2 separate regions of the Homo sapiens genome follow, and region 2 is linked to region 1. Evidence: promoter capture Hi-C in 16 types of primary human blood cells and fetal thymus (Javierre and others, 2016). All regions are on one chromosome and are shown on one strand. The core of a region is centred on a gene start or on the middle of the fragment in contact, and the rest is flanking DNA. Distances in the headings are between cores, read along the strand shown.

The links. The method cuts DNA at HindIII sites, captures the fragments that hold promoters and counts their contacts. A CHiCAGO score of 5 or more calls a contact.
Region 2: a fragment that was not itself captured here is called in contact with the fragment with the promoter of BPHL in region 1 in 3 of 17 cell types (non-activated CD4 T cells, fetal thymus and activated CD4 T cells); the score reaches 7.5 in non-activated CD4 T cells.

Annotation. Positions count from the first base shown.
Region 1 is chr6:3,115,196-3,122,159 of GRCh38, reverse strand. It overlaps BPHL (biphenyl hydrolase like), which reads right to left and starts at 3,449. Exons shown (of 7, transcript NM_004332.4): 1 at 3,313-3,449. The coding sequence starts at 3,419. LOC107986556 (a long non-coding RNA gene) reads left to right here and starts at 3,513. Exons shown (of 4, transcript XR_001743928.3): 1 at 3,513-4,371. RefSeq lists a silencer at 3,152-3,541 and an enhancer at 3,580-4,215. The HindIII fragment of the contact is 8,418 bases long and covers 2,541-6,964 here.
Region 2 is chr6:4,136,360-4,143,323 of GRCh38, reverse strand. ECI2-DT (ECI2 divergent transcript) reads right to left here. Exons shown (of 4, transcript NR_103764.1): 2 at 5,922-5,963. LOC107986559 (a long non-coding RNA gene) reads left to right here and starts at 1,522. Exons shown (of 2, transcript XR_001743933.2): 1 at 1,522-1,630; 2 at 2,842-2,990. The HindIII fragment of the contact is 5,893 bases long and covers 1,928-6,964 here.

The DNA of each region.
Region 1 (6,964 bases), core at 2,200-4,699:
TACAGGCACCCGCCACCACGCCCGGCTAATTTTTTTGTATTTTTAGTAGAGACGGGGTTTCACCCTGTTAGCCAGGATGGTCTCAATCTCCTGACCTCGTGATCTGCCTGCCTCAGCCTCCCTAAGCGCTGGGATTACAGGCCCGGCCCATCTCCTTTTTCTTCTACATACTCTCTACTCCTACCTCTGCCCTTAGTCAAAGGATAACTGAAACACAGCCCTTTTGAAAAAATGAGGTCCTGTTTTATCTTTTGGTTTAATCTTATTTGCCAGTCTCAAGTAAAAAAGAAACAAACGTGGAAACAGATGTGTTGAATACAGGTACATCTACTCTTAACATACCATTTCTGGAAAAATAAAAGACAGAATTGGGTAGTAATAAGGTCTGACTAAACTATAAGCTCCTTATCTACAGAAATATTATTAAAGGGGCATCAATGAAGCCACCAAGCAATGGCAATACTGACTCTGCCATTTACTTATTATGATTACTGCCCTATTCCTCTGAGAAATTCATTTCTACAGTTAAGATAGCTTAGGATCGGCCAGGTGTGGTGGCTCACACCTGTAATCCCGATACTTTGGGCGGCCCAGGTGGGTGGATCACGAGGTCAGGATCACGAGGTCAGGAGATCAAGACCATCCTGCCCAACATGGTGGAACGCCATCTCTACTAAAATACACACAAAAAAATTAGCCCGGCATGGTGGTGCACACCTGTAATCCCAGCTACTCAGAAGGCTGAGGCAGGGGAATCGCTGGAACCTGGGAGGTGAAGATTACAGTGAGCCGAGATCGTGCCACTGCACTCCAGCCTGGTGACAGAGAGAGACTCCGTCTCAAAAAAAAAAAAAAAAAAAAAAAAAAAGAAACTGCTATTATCATATTGTATGTTCAGCTATTTCTTTTGTGTATGTTTTGTGAAGTAGCCATTATCTACAATAAAGTATTTGCTACCTTCAGGGCTTGAAATTTGCATGAATCTTGATGAATTATTTTTACATCTCTTATATATTGTACTATTATATAAATATTCCCATTGTGCCTACTAATTACTTCATGTTTATTATATCCCCAGGCTTTTACATTTATTGTTTCAAATCCTCACAAAAACGCTGCAAGGCAGGAGGCTCAGAGAGGTTGAACAATCTGCCCACACTCACAGAGCTAGGAAGTGGCCACGGGGCCATTAGAACTCCAGAGGCCATGATTCCTCTCTAACCTCATGGCTGAACAGAGTCCTAAGAGGGCTCAGGCACCGGGGCCACACTCTGACTGCCAGATACAGCGTGGTGGCAAGCGTCAGCAGAAGGACAGTCTCTGATTCTCTGGCAGGGCATCCCAAGGTTGAACTTGGAAAATATTTTTTAGGAAGATTGTTAGGTTATGTGAATTATTAATATTTATAACTGCACATAATATCCAATTTCAGGTAGAAAAGGCTTTTCTTGACCTGACCCAGGAATAAATCACCTTACGGATTTTGAAATAAGGGTCAAAGTTCCAAACAGCAGACTTACAAACAAGTTTTTGGAACAAAAGTCAGTTGTAGGTTGGGCACTGGCTATTCTGAAGCAAAGTTTTTACACGAATCCTTTTACCTACTGACACTGAGCTACAGCTGCATTTCAGGATTAACTAATACCACTGCTTGTTTTCCCAGATTATATGTCATATCAACTTGCAGCTGCATTTATAAAACGGCCGTACAAAATCCAGAAAAACCTGTTTCTTCAGAGATATTTTAGGAAGAATGATCTGCAATGCAACTAGATGGATGGGGCCTTCCTCAACCATTAAATAACCTATCAGAACTATACTGGTAGGCCGAGAGCGGTGGCTCACGCCTGTAATCCCAGCACTTTGGGAGGCTGAGGCAGGTGGATCATTTGAGGTCAAGAGTTCGAGATCAGCTTGGCCAACATGGTGAAACCCCATCTCTACTAAAAACACAAAAATTAGCCGGGCATGGTGGCAGGTACCTGTAATCCCAGCTACTCGGGAGGCTGAGGCCACGAGAATCGCTTAAACCTGGGAGGCAGAGGTTGCAGTGAGCGAGATCACAACACTGCACTCCAGCATGGGCAAAAGAGCGAGAGTCAGTCTCAAAAAAAAAAAGAACTATATTGGTACAATCACAGTAACTTATTTCGATGCCTTTCTGCAGACAGGAAACTGGAAAAAATAATCATTTTCACTGTTAATTTATACAGCTGTAGCCATTAACATGTTTTTCCATCTATCAAAATAGCCCTGACCATCTTATAATAATTCTAAAATTAAAGGAGCTAGTCAATTGCAATATGAAATTTTAAAAGCTGGTCAGATTTGCCCTCTTTTCTCCTTCTAAATCAAGTTTTCAAACTAAAAGTTTCTATGTTGGATCAAGTACAGTTCTAAACGCTGTGTACCTATCTAGTACTGACTTTATGAAAGTAGCCCATCAACAGTCAACTGCGCACATGCACTGTGTACGTTCGTTGTATACGTGTGTTTGCATGTGTGTAGGGATGTATGTAGAGAATAAAGTAAAACAAGCTTCATGCCGCTCTATCCACATTTCTGCCCAGTATCTCTTGGGACCAAGAGTATCCATTTTCAAGACAGAAGGTCAGAAATTAATCCAGTTTTTTTGTTATTGTTTTACCTGAAATGGGGGGACAGGTGGGAGGACAAAAGAGAATAAAGCAGATTCCTGGGCATCTCCACACATGTAGATCAGATCCTCTGGGAGTGAGGCCCAGGATTCTGAATTTTCAGTTCCCAACGTGATTCTTTTGCACATTAAGGTACGAGATCAGCAAGCAAAGAGAAGACTTAGGGCTCTCGGGACCCGTGATTAAAGCCTTAGCGGTACTCAGGCTCAGGCTGATTTCTGACATAAGAGAAAGAAGAGATTATTGTCCTTATGCCCTTAGTGTGGACTCTGGACAGAGCAATGGACTAATGAGGGCGTTGGGATTCTAGTCCGTGCTCCGTCACGGGTGAGTCCATACTACAGGCAAATGTATCTCCCTGGGTCTCTCTGGTCTGCACACTGAAGGGGCTGCACTCTATAGCCCAAGCCTCCACGGCTCCAGACTCCTTGAACTGAGGCTGACCGAGGCGCATGCACGATCGAGGGGCTCGAGCACCAAGCGCGGCTGGCCCCCAGGATCGGGGTCTCGCGGCACAAAGGGCGACAGGGCAGCCAGGCCGCGCCCACGCCCCGTGCCCGCGCGCCGGGAACTCCTGCTGTCGGCACGCGCCCCTCCCGCCGCCCCTCGAGCGCGCCGATGCTGGGGATCCCCGGGGCGAGGTGGCCGCCATTACCCGAACGCGGCCGCGGGTCCGGCCCGTGGGACGTGGATCCCGGGCTTCAGCGCTGAGAGAAGCAGCCGCAGGCGCAACACGCCCCGGCCGCCCAGCACAGCCACCATGGTCACAGGTCGCGTAGCTGCCGGGAGTGCGCATGCGCTAAGACCAAGCGCGGTACCCGGCCCACTCTGCCCCGAAGCCACGCCCTCTGCTCCGCCCACCTCGCCTCTCCATCCTGCTCCGCCCTCTGCCCGCCCCGCCCCGAAGCCACGCCCTGCCGGGTGCTTTCCCATGGGCGACCGAAACTCGGCTCGTGGTTTCGCAGTCCTGGAACCGCCGGCACCCGCGTAGACCGTCCCCTCTCGGTGCTGGCTCTGGCTCCCGGGATGAGTGTCCCCGTCGGCGCTGCCCCGCCCTCGCTCGTCGCCTCAGCGACCATGGCCTTTCCAGGAGGCGAGGCCGCCAGCCATAGCGCCCTCGCTGCGTCGGCGTCCAGGCGGGACTCCGGAGTGGGCGGGGCTCCGGCTCTAGGCAGGCTGCTATGTTGGATCAAGTAAAGTTCTAAACGCTGTGCACCTATTTAGTACTGACTAGTACTAGGAAGTGTATTTGCTTTTCGGAGATGATGGGATCTAAATTTTGTTTATACCACTTCACGCCCATTAGGATGGCTACTAGCAAAACCCCCAGAAATTAGTGTTGGTGAAGATGTAGAGAAATTGAAGCCCTTGTATATTGCTGTTGGGAATGTAAAATGGTGCAGCCATGTGATGAACAATACTGCGGTTCCTCAACAAATCAGTTATATGATCCAGCATTTTCTTTTCTGGGTATATAACCCAAAAGAATTTAAAACAGGGTGTACAAGAAGAAATGTTTTTACACTCACGTTGACAGCGGCACTATTCACAATAGCCAAAAGGGTGGAGGCAATTTAAGTGTCCAAAAACAGATACATGGATAAGCAAAATGTTGTCTGTGCATGCAAGGGAACATTTTTTAGCCTGAACAAAGAACGAAATTCTGACACTTGCTACTACATGGATGAACCTGGAGGACACTATGCTGAGGGAGGTAAGCCAGTCAAAAAAAGACAAATACTGTGTGATTCCACTTATATAATAAGGTACCTAGAGGAGTCAAACTTATAGGGACAGAAAATAGAATGGGGGTTGTTGAGGGCTGGTGGAAGGGGGAATGGAAAGTTGGTGTTTCATGGGGACAGAGTTTCAGTTTGGAGAGATGAAAAAGTCCTGGGGATGGATTTTGGTGATGCCTGCATTACATTGTGAGTGTACTTACTGCCACTGAACTACACACCTAAAAGTGGTTTAAGTGGTAAGTTTTATGTATGTTTTACCACAATTAATTTTTTTTCTTTTGGCTGTATAATTGCAGCTTTATAAAGGTTATAGACATTATCTAATTGAAAGCTCAGTGGAGAAAAAAAACAACTATTGCTTTTTAAGTCAATCGTTCTGCCTTAATTGGAAATAACTGGCAGATTTGTGGCTACTGTTGTAGCCTTGGCTTGAATAATTGGAGACAACAGCTTCTTTGCATATTGCATTTCTTCTCCTCCAAGAGACCTTTTTGGTGTAACAGTCAGTCCTGTGAGCACAGTGCTTGTAGGTGTTACACTCATAGAAATTTCTGTCACCTGCAGTGTCCTCACTGGCCCATTGGACTTTCTTGAGTAGTAAAGGCAGTTTTGGCCTAAATACAGACTATGCAAAAGTTTTCATATTCTACTCTCAACATAAATCTATCACATTAATTCCTGCATAAAAGGAAAGAGACATATATAATGTTTGAGTTTAATATCGTTTGACTTTCAGAAATCTTTGGTGAGGTCAGTATTTCCTTTTTTCCTGATATGTTGATTGGGGTTTCATCTCAGAAATGATAAAAATAGCTGTCTGTACAGTTTCAACACCAGTTACCCTTGTGCTAATAAAAAACGGTAGCACTGAGTTTTAGGTTATTGGTGTCACAATTTTTTTTTTTTGAGACGGAGTTTTGGTCTTGTTGCCCAGGCTGGAGTGCAATGGCGCAATCTCAGCTCACTGTAACCTCTGCCTCGCAGGTTCAAGCAATTCTCCTGCCTCAGCCTCCTGAGTAGCTGAGATTACAAGCACCCGCCACCATGCCCGGCTAATTTTTGTAATTTTAGTAGAGACGAGGTTTTGCCATGTTGGCCAGGCTGGTCTCAAACTCCTGACCTCAGGTGATCCACCCGCCTCAGCCTCCTAAAGTGCTAGGATTACAGGTGTGTGCCACCGCGTCCAGCGTGGTGTCACTATTTTTAAGTAACATACCTGACAACCAGTTCTTTATATATAGCAAGATCGTACAGTTTAAAAAAACTGCCATTTTTGTGCCAGGCACCTTATGATATATCATATTTCTTTAATCTTCACATTAGCCTTCTGTGCTATTGCACTCTCCATTTATAGATGAGGCAACTGAGGCTAAGAAAGGTTAGGAAGCAAGCCCTAGGTAACACAGCTGAAAAGTAATTTTGAGCTGCTCAATTTCAGGACTCTATACTTGCATAATGACGGCGAAAGGTTAGGAAGCAAGGCCTGGGTAACACAGCTGAGAAGGGGCAGGGGGGAGTTTTGAGCTCTCAATTTCAGGACTCTATACTTGATGATGATGATGATGATTGCTATTATTATTGAGGCACGGTGTGATCACAGCTCCCCACAGCCTCAAACTCCTGGGCTCAAGTGATCCTCCCACCTTAGCCTGCCAAGAAGCTAGGACTACAGGCATACACCACCACACCTGGCTAATATTTTTTAATGTTTTTGTGGAGATAGGGTCTTGCTGTGTTGTCCACACTGGTCTCGAACTCATGGCCTCAAGCGATCCTCCCAGCTTGGCCTCCCAAAGTGCTGGGATTACAGGCATGAGCCACTATACCTGGTCGTATACTTGGATTATTGCATATTGTAAAAATCACTGTAGTAGCATTAACCTTTCAGTGATTTCTCTGAAATCAGCTGCTTCTAAAATCTTGAATATTTACACTATTTATGCCTTTATTATAATTAGAAAACCCTTTCCCTTTCATAAATACCACACATTAAAATGTACATCAAAATACTGCCTAAAATATTTTGTGATTTATTAAACATTTTATTCCTGAAACCCTAACCTCACGTGACAGACCCAAAGCAAAGATGATGATTGTAGCAACAAGTAGAAAATCTACCAAGCAGGACTGTGGGAGCTGGAAGGAGGTCTCCGTTACCAGCAATAACCTAGGGTGTGAGTATTTGTTTCCGAACCAAGTGCGGACAGTCTCGGTTCTGCTTTGCTGGTCTGTGTCGTCATTGGCTCTGCCCATTAACAGCAGTGTTCTTGTGGAGCTTGGGCCTTGTACCTAACTCCTCACAGGCAAACTTGGTTCTTCTCACCATGGTGCTGAGAGAGTGGGGGTGAAGGGAAGGCCCCAGAGCCAGGCGCGGGGACAGCAGTGCTGCAGGCCTCTCATCCTGAGCGCCAAAATGCACTGGCAGGGAGGTGTTCTTACCATCAGCATCCCGTCTCCTGCTTGGCAGCGGGAGGGTAAAAGGGGATTATGCTCAGGAAATGCGGCCTCAGTGGCAGAGGCACCATGGAGAATCCGCATCTGTCCCAGTGACACATCACATCAATA
Region 2 (6,964 bases), core at 3,625-6,124, 1.0 Mb before region 1:
AGAACCATGAGTCAAGTAAACCTCTTTTCTTTATAAATTCCCCAGTCCCAGGTAGATTGTTGGTTTGGGGTTTTTGTTGTTGTTTTGTTTTGTTTTGTTTTACAGAGTCTTGCTCTGTCTCCCAGGCTGGAATGCAGTGCCACAATCTCAGCTCAACCTCTGCCTTCTGGGCCCAAGCAATCCTCCACCTCAGTATCCTGAGTAGCTGGGAGTACAGGCATGTGCCACCAAGTCTAGCTAATTTTTTTGTATTTTTTGTAGAGATGGGATTTCACCACATTGCCCAGGCTGGTCTCAAACTCCTGAGCTCAAGCGATCCACCTGCCTCAGCCTCCCACAGTGCTGGGATTACAGTTCAGGTAGTTCTTTATAGCAGTGTGAGAATGGACTAATACAGACATAAAGCCAAAACAAAACAAACAAACAAACAAACAAATCATCCTAATGGATAAGTTAAAATGGAATACTAAAAATAATTCGAAGATGGTAAGGAGGGAGAAGAGAAAAGCAAAAACAAACAGAAAAATAACAAAATAGGAGGTCTACATCTAATTATATCAATAATCACATCAAATGTAAATGGTCTAAATATATCATTTAAAAAACAAAGATTGTCAGATTGGATTTTTAAAAAAACAAACAACTATATGTTGTCTACAAGAAACCCACTTTAAATATAATGATACACATATATTAAAAGTCAAAGAATAAAAACAGATAAACCATGCAAACACTAATCAAAAGAAAGCTGTGTTGTCTACATTAATATAAAAAATAGACTTCATATAAAGGAAAATTACTTACCAGGGATAAAAAGGGACAGTACAAAATAATAAAGGTCAATTCATCAAGAAGACATACAGTCATCAGTTTGTATCCACCTAACAACAGAACTCCAAAATGCATGAAGCAAAAACTGATTGAACTGAATAGAGAAATAGTCACATTTACAATTACATATGGCGACATCAACATTCCTCTCTCAGTAATTTATGGAACAAGGAGACACAAAGTCAGTAAGTGACAATGAATGATAGGATGCATATTCTTTTGACAACACATGGAATGTTCACCGCGATAGGCCACATACTACTGGATATAAAACTAACAAATGTAAAAGAATTGAATTCATACAAAGAATGTTCTTGGAGTACAGTGGAATTAAACTAGAGATAAGAGAAAGATCACGAAAAATCCCCAAATACAGCGGGACACAGTGGCTCATGCCTGTAATCCCAGCACTTTGGGAGGCCAAGGTGGGAGGATCATGAGATTAGGAGTTTGAGACCAGCCTGGCTAACACAGTGAAACCCTGTCTCTACTAAAAATACAAAAAATTAGCTAGGCATGGTGGTGGGCGCCTGTAGTCCCAGCTACTTGGGAGGCTGAGGTAGGAGAATGCCTTGAACCCAGGAGGAGGAGGCTGTGGTGAGCTGAGATCGCACCACTGCACTCCAGCCTGGGGCCAGTGTGAGATTCTGTCTCATTAAAAAAAAAAAAAAAAAAAAAAATCCCCAAATACTTAGAAATATCTTACCTTTCTCTCCCTTCAGGAAGGACACCTGAGGCACATGCTCTTCACTGGCACCCAGGCTACTATAGTAGAATTGAGTGTCAGTTGTCCACAGAGGTAACTTGCTTAATGATTTTACCCTTTATTGCCTGCCTTTCCTTGTCTCTTTTAATTCTCTACTCCTACACCAAGGTTTCCTGGAATCATTCCCCAAATAAACTCCTCTCTTGGGGTCTGCTTCTGGGAGACTCTAACCTAAGACAGCTGCATATACAGTTAATTCTCATTATTCATGATAATTAGATTTTCTAAAGTCATAGCAAACACTGAATAAGTCAATAGTGAACCATTGTTTCTAGAGGTAATCCAGGATTAGGTTCCTTTGAGTCTCTGGTTACATTTTCATCATAAGCTTATCCGATGTGTTTCTATGGAAAGACACATCATTTAAAGTACATATATATGTATATAGTTGATTCAATAATACTGAATTTGCTAACAGCATTATAAACTCAGGCCTGAAGGAAGTCTAGCTCACATTTTCTCCATGAGGCACATCACAGCCTTATTGCTTTTACACTAGATAGCAATTCAGCATTATGCTTGCAGGCCATTTTAAACAGCAAATCACCAAAAAAAGCACAAAAATATGAAAATATGTAGCATTAAGTAAACCCCATAAGGACATTTATTTACAGTATGACAGTTGAAATAAGAAGGCAGAAGGTCACCTTGTTTGACCTCAGCTGTGAATATGTGCTTCGGGCAAATCAAATTTTCCAACACTCCAGACATGTTGCAAATGCCCCATGAGTATTGATTTAAAGTTTACAAATAGGCCGGGTGCAGTGGCTCACACCTGTAATTTCAGCACTTTGGGAGGCCAAGGCAGGTGGATCACCTGACGTCAGGAATTCAAGACCAGCCTGGCCAACATGGTGAAACCCTGTCTTTACTAAAAATGCAAAAAAATTAGACAGGCATGGTGGTGCATGCCTGTAGTGTCAACTACTCTGGAGGCTGAGGCTAGAGAATCACTTGAACCCTGAAGCTAGAGAATCACTTGAACCCAGGAGGTGGAGGCTACAGTGAGCTGAGATCATGCCACCGCACTCCAGCCTGGGAGAGAGAGCAAGACTCCATCTCAAAAAAATAAATAAATAAATAAATAAATAAAAATAAAGTTTACAAATAAATTTTAGCAAGTAGGCAAACTCTCAAATACACAAACTACGAAAAATAAGGATTGACTATGTTTTTCTAATCTTATTTAAAGTCAAGCTGCTGATTTATGGATGGAATTTTAAATTTACTTCTTTCTTGTGCAGAACAGAGAAGGCAGGAGCACCTTTGCTGAGTCAATAAGGATACCACCTGCCTACGAACCACGGATGCCATTCTTGAACATTCTTCTCAGCCCTTAAATGCATGTAAATTATATGACATTGTGTTGAATACATATAATTGTCTTTGTGGCTCTCTGTGGTTAACTAAATTGTAGGTATTGTTCTTGTTCTTATGTATTCATTAGGACAGGTAAATTAATTTAAGCTGTGGTGTAAACAAGAAAAAATGGAATGACTTCAGAAAAGCAGCCATTTCTTACACAGTGTATCTATCAGTTCCAATCATTTTCAGAGGGAGAGTCCTCCAAAAATAATTTTTTTTTTTTTTTTTTGCTACAGAAGGATAGTTGAAAAGTATCCTCAAATACAAGGTCAGGTTAATGCTTGTGCAACATACAGAAAGAGTGGATAAAAGAGCCTTGGATGAATGAACAAATCACGCAGGTGTAAAGCACTTAGACAGAGGTGATAACATGAGCCAAATGTTTACTTTTGAAATGACTTTCTTCTCTAAATTATAACGATGGGAAATAAGAAAAACACCCCAAAGCAGGTAATATTCCAGCATACTATTTTTAATATCTCTGACATATAAGATTGTGTAGGAAGGCAATACAAAGCCTAGCTAGGAAGAAGAAAAGAGGATTAATTTTGTAAAGGAGACATAATAATGCCACAGGTTTAATTTATCTCAAGCAATGTCATCCAGCTAAAGCAGGAAACAATTATGATACAGAACGTTGAACGTGGACTAATCATTTTAATGACTAATGGAAAAAGCTATAATAGATTTTTCACCCAGAAATTTATAGAGTTAAGTAACACCACAGTTGCCTTCGTACCACTCTCCCCAGTTCATTTCGGCACAGGAACTTGGCAACAGTCAAAGTCCTCTGCCTTTAGCTACCACTCACTGAAAAAGCAACATTTCAAACCACAAAAACACTCATGTTAACACCTTCTGACAACTTAATGAAAAGGTAGCAACTGACTCACAACTTATTATCAAATGTGGAAAAGCACGCTCTAGAAGGAAACTTTCAACAGCTCATCCATCATCCAACAAACCTTCACAGAGTACAGTATTTTCTGTCAAGCAGTGTGTCCAGAAATGAGAAAGGGGTTGAATACAGGGTAGAATTCTTCCCAGGATATGCCCCTTGTAATAAAATAGATTACTAATCAGATATAAAACACAGTGACATAGGGGCCAGAAGAAAGAAACGCCCAGGAGACTGTAGGAACTCAGGACAGGACTAACCAGTGGGTGGGTCAGAGGAGATTCCTGGATATGCCAATGCCTGGAATGAGAGAACCTGGAAACTCAGAGAAACTGAGCATCCCAAGTTCACCTGAAATGGGAAGTTAACATGTGGGGCTGGAAAGAGGTGCCTGAGAAGGTAGGCAAGGGCAAATCTTGTGGGCCTTATTTGCCAGTGCTAAGCAGCTTGGGTTTGTTTAACAGGCAAAGGGGACTCACTAAGAGATTTTCAGCCAAGGGGAGAGATCGGGGAGAATCGTGTGGAGTGTAAGATTTAAAATTTAGGGAGACCAGCCTGGAAGCAGGGAGAGAATGGATTGCAGAGGTAACTGAATTAGCAAAACTGGGAAGTGGCTGCTACAGGAATCCAGGTAACAGTAATCTCAAAATCAATGAGAGCATGAATTAAGACGATGCAGAGGGATGTGAGATGAGGGGGAAAATTAAAAAAATATATTTAGGAGACAGAATCACTAGTATTTGATGAATGATAGATGTGAGGTGTCAGTGAGGTAAGGGAATCAAAGACTCTTCCAGGTTTCTAGCTTGCACTGTTAATTGGGACAGTGTATCAGAATTGTTCCTCAAGACTGAATGTGACAGACTCTGTACATGCTGTAACAACAGTATCTGATGATGTAAATATTGGAAATAAAAATTATCATGACTGACAGAGTCATCATGTAACATTCTACTCTGATATAATCTATTCTATGATCTTAAAAAAGAAACATTCACACTACCACTGAGCACAACACTGTGAAGTCGATATGCTGACCCCAAAGATTCATTATAGCCGGAGACAACACTTCCTGTGCACCTGCTAAGAGAGTCTGAGATTCTCTCAACCCAAAGAACATCAACGGCCCTCCCAGGCAGCATCAGTCCCCTGCAATCAATAAGACAGGATCTAACCAGACTGGAGGACCCCCTCCCCAAGATTTTCATAAGCTCCAGGGGAAGCTGGTTATATAACAGGGTGAAGATTAGAGCTTTAGAGAGGTCTTGACTGAGTTTCTGCCTTTCCTACTCTTATCCAGAACCATTACACCCTGAAGATATATCTGGAGTCCAGGATTTCACTGAGAACTGGATAGCTGGGCATGCCAATTGTATCTTCAATGGCTCTCTGCTTGCTCTCAGCACGGAATCCAAACTCCTTAGCACAGATACAATGATCTTCAAGCTCAGGTGGAGAATCTACCAAAATCACAATGGTTCCCTTTTGCTGCAACTGGCCCTCCCACCCACAGGGCCATGGCAGCCATGTTTACAAGGCATGGTCTGGACACCTCTTAACAGTTTAGTAAACCAAATACGGACCCAAGATGACCCTCTTTAGGATCTAGGAATCTAAATGTCTGTCTCTTTAACCAGGAATGTCTGTCTCTTTAACCATCTCCTTTCTCTCAAATGCTGGATATAATGGGGCTTTAGTAAATGACAGCTGGTAGATATGCAAATGATTTCTCCAATAGGAAAAACATTCCTCCCGAGGTTATGGTTTTATTGCTCTATGGGATATTAACCAGTTTTGTTTCTAACTTTGCAATCTATTCCAGCATTCTTTTTTTAACATTGACTATATTAAACTAGTCTTTTAACTTCTTCTTTAGCACCCTGTTGGTTCCCTAATTAATGAGCTAAGTAAATCTTTGACACATGCTCTTTCTATATTTTTAAAATTATAGTTTGAAAAAGATAAGCTAATTTCCCACACCCCACTCTTTTCTGTGGTAGGTATAAGCCTGAGAGTAGTTTGCTTGCATTGCAAAAGGTTTCACTATCAAAATATGCTTACCAGTATGAGATTTAAAAAATATTTCCATGACAGCTGTTTCATCTTCTGGAAATGAATGAGTCTTGTATTATCTGCAATATCTGATTACTGCATTTCCATTACCTCTGAGGTTATCTAACAGCCTTGGAGAGAGTCAAGGTCTCTGAGAGAGGCAGCTCAGCCTACCAACTACCACTTTGTAATATATGGAGAGGCCAGGTGTGGTGGCTCACACCTGTAATCCCAACACTGGGAGGCCGAAGCGGGTGGATCACCTGAAATCAGGAGTTTGAGACCAGTCTGACCAACAAGGTGAAACCCCATCTCTACTAAATACAAAAAATTAGCCGGGCCTGGTGGCGCATGCTTGTAATCCCAGCTACTCGGGAGCCCGAGACAGGAGAATCACTTGAACCCAGGAGGTGGAGGTTGCAGTGAGCCGAGATTGTGCCAGTGCACTCCAGCCTACGCAACAAGACGGAAACTCCATCTCAAAAAAAAAAAAATCTCTTTGGGATAAGCCCAAATTGTTCTATTTGACTTTTGGTGTTGCCCCATCTACACTATTACCCAGATCTACCTGATGAAACTTAATGATAAAGTTACTTGAGACTTGGACTCTGCCCACCTGCAAGCCTCCTGTCTTTGGGGAATTCACCTGATTAATCTTTCTGGGTCTCAGTTTCCACATCAGCTCAACAGGGCAATATGCTCAACAGGGCAATTTCCACATCAGCTCAACAGGGCAATATCATTTTCCTTACAGGGTTGTCCAAAGACTTACAATTAGCCTGGCTCACTATAGGTAGTCCACAGGTGTCAGCTACATAAATCTAAAACTCCTAGGCATGCTTGGATGGGACAACTTGGGCACAGAATTTAGAGGGGTGGTTTTGTTTCGTTTTGTTCTGTTTTGTTTTTTGGTTCTCTGGGAACTGGACAAGGTGACACAGCCAAGGCCCTTCCAACTCTTAAGAATTCTTCCCCAAAGAAAATACTTTGCAAATGCCTCAGCAGAACTCAAAAATATCCACAAACTCTTCACTGACACTAAAAACTTGGGT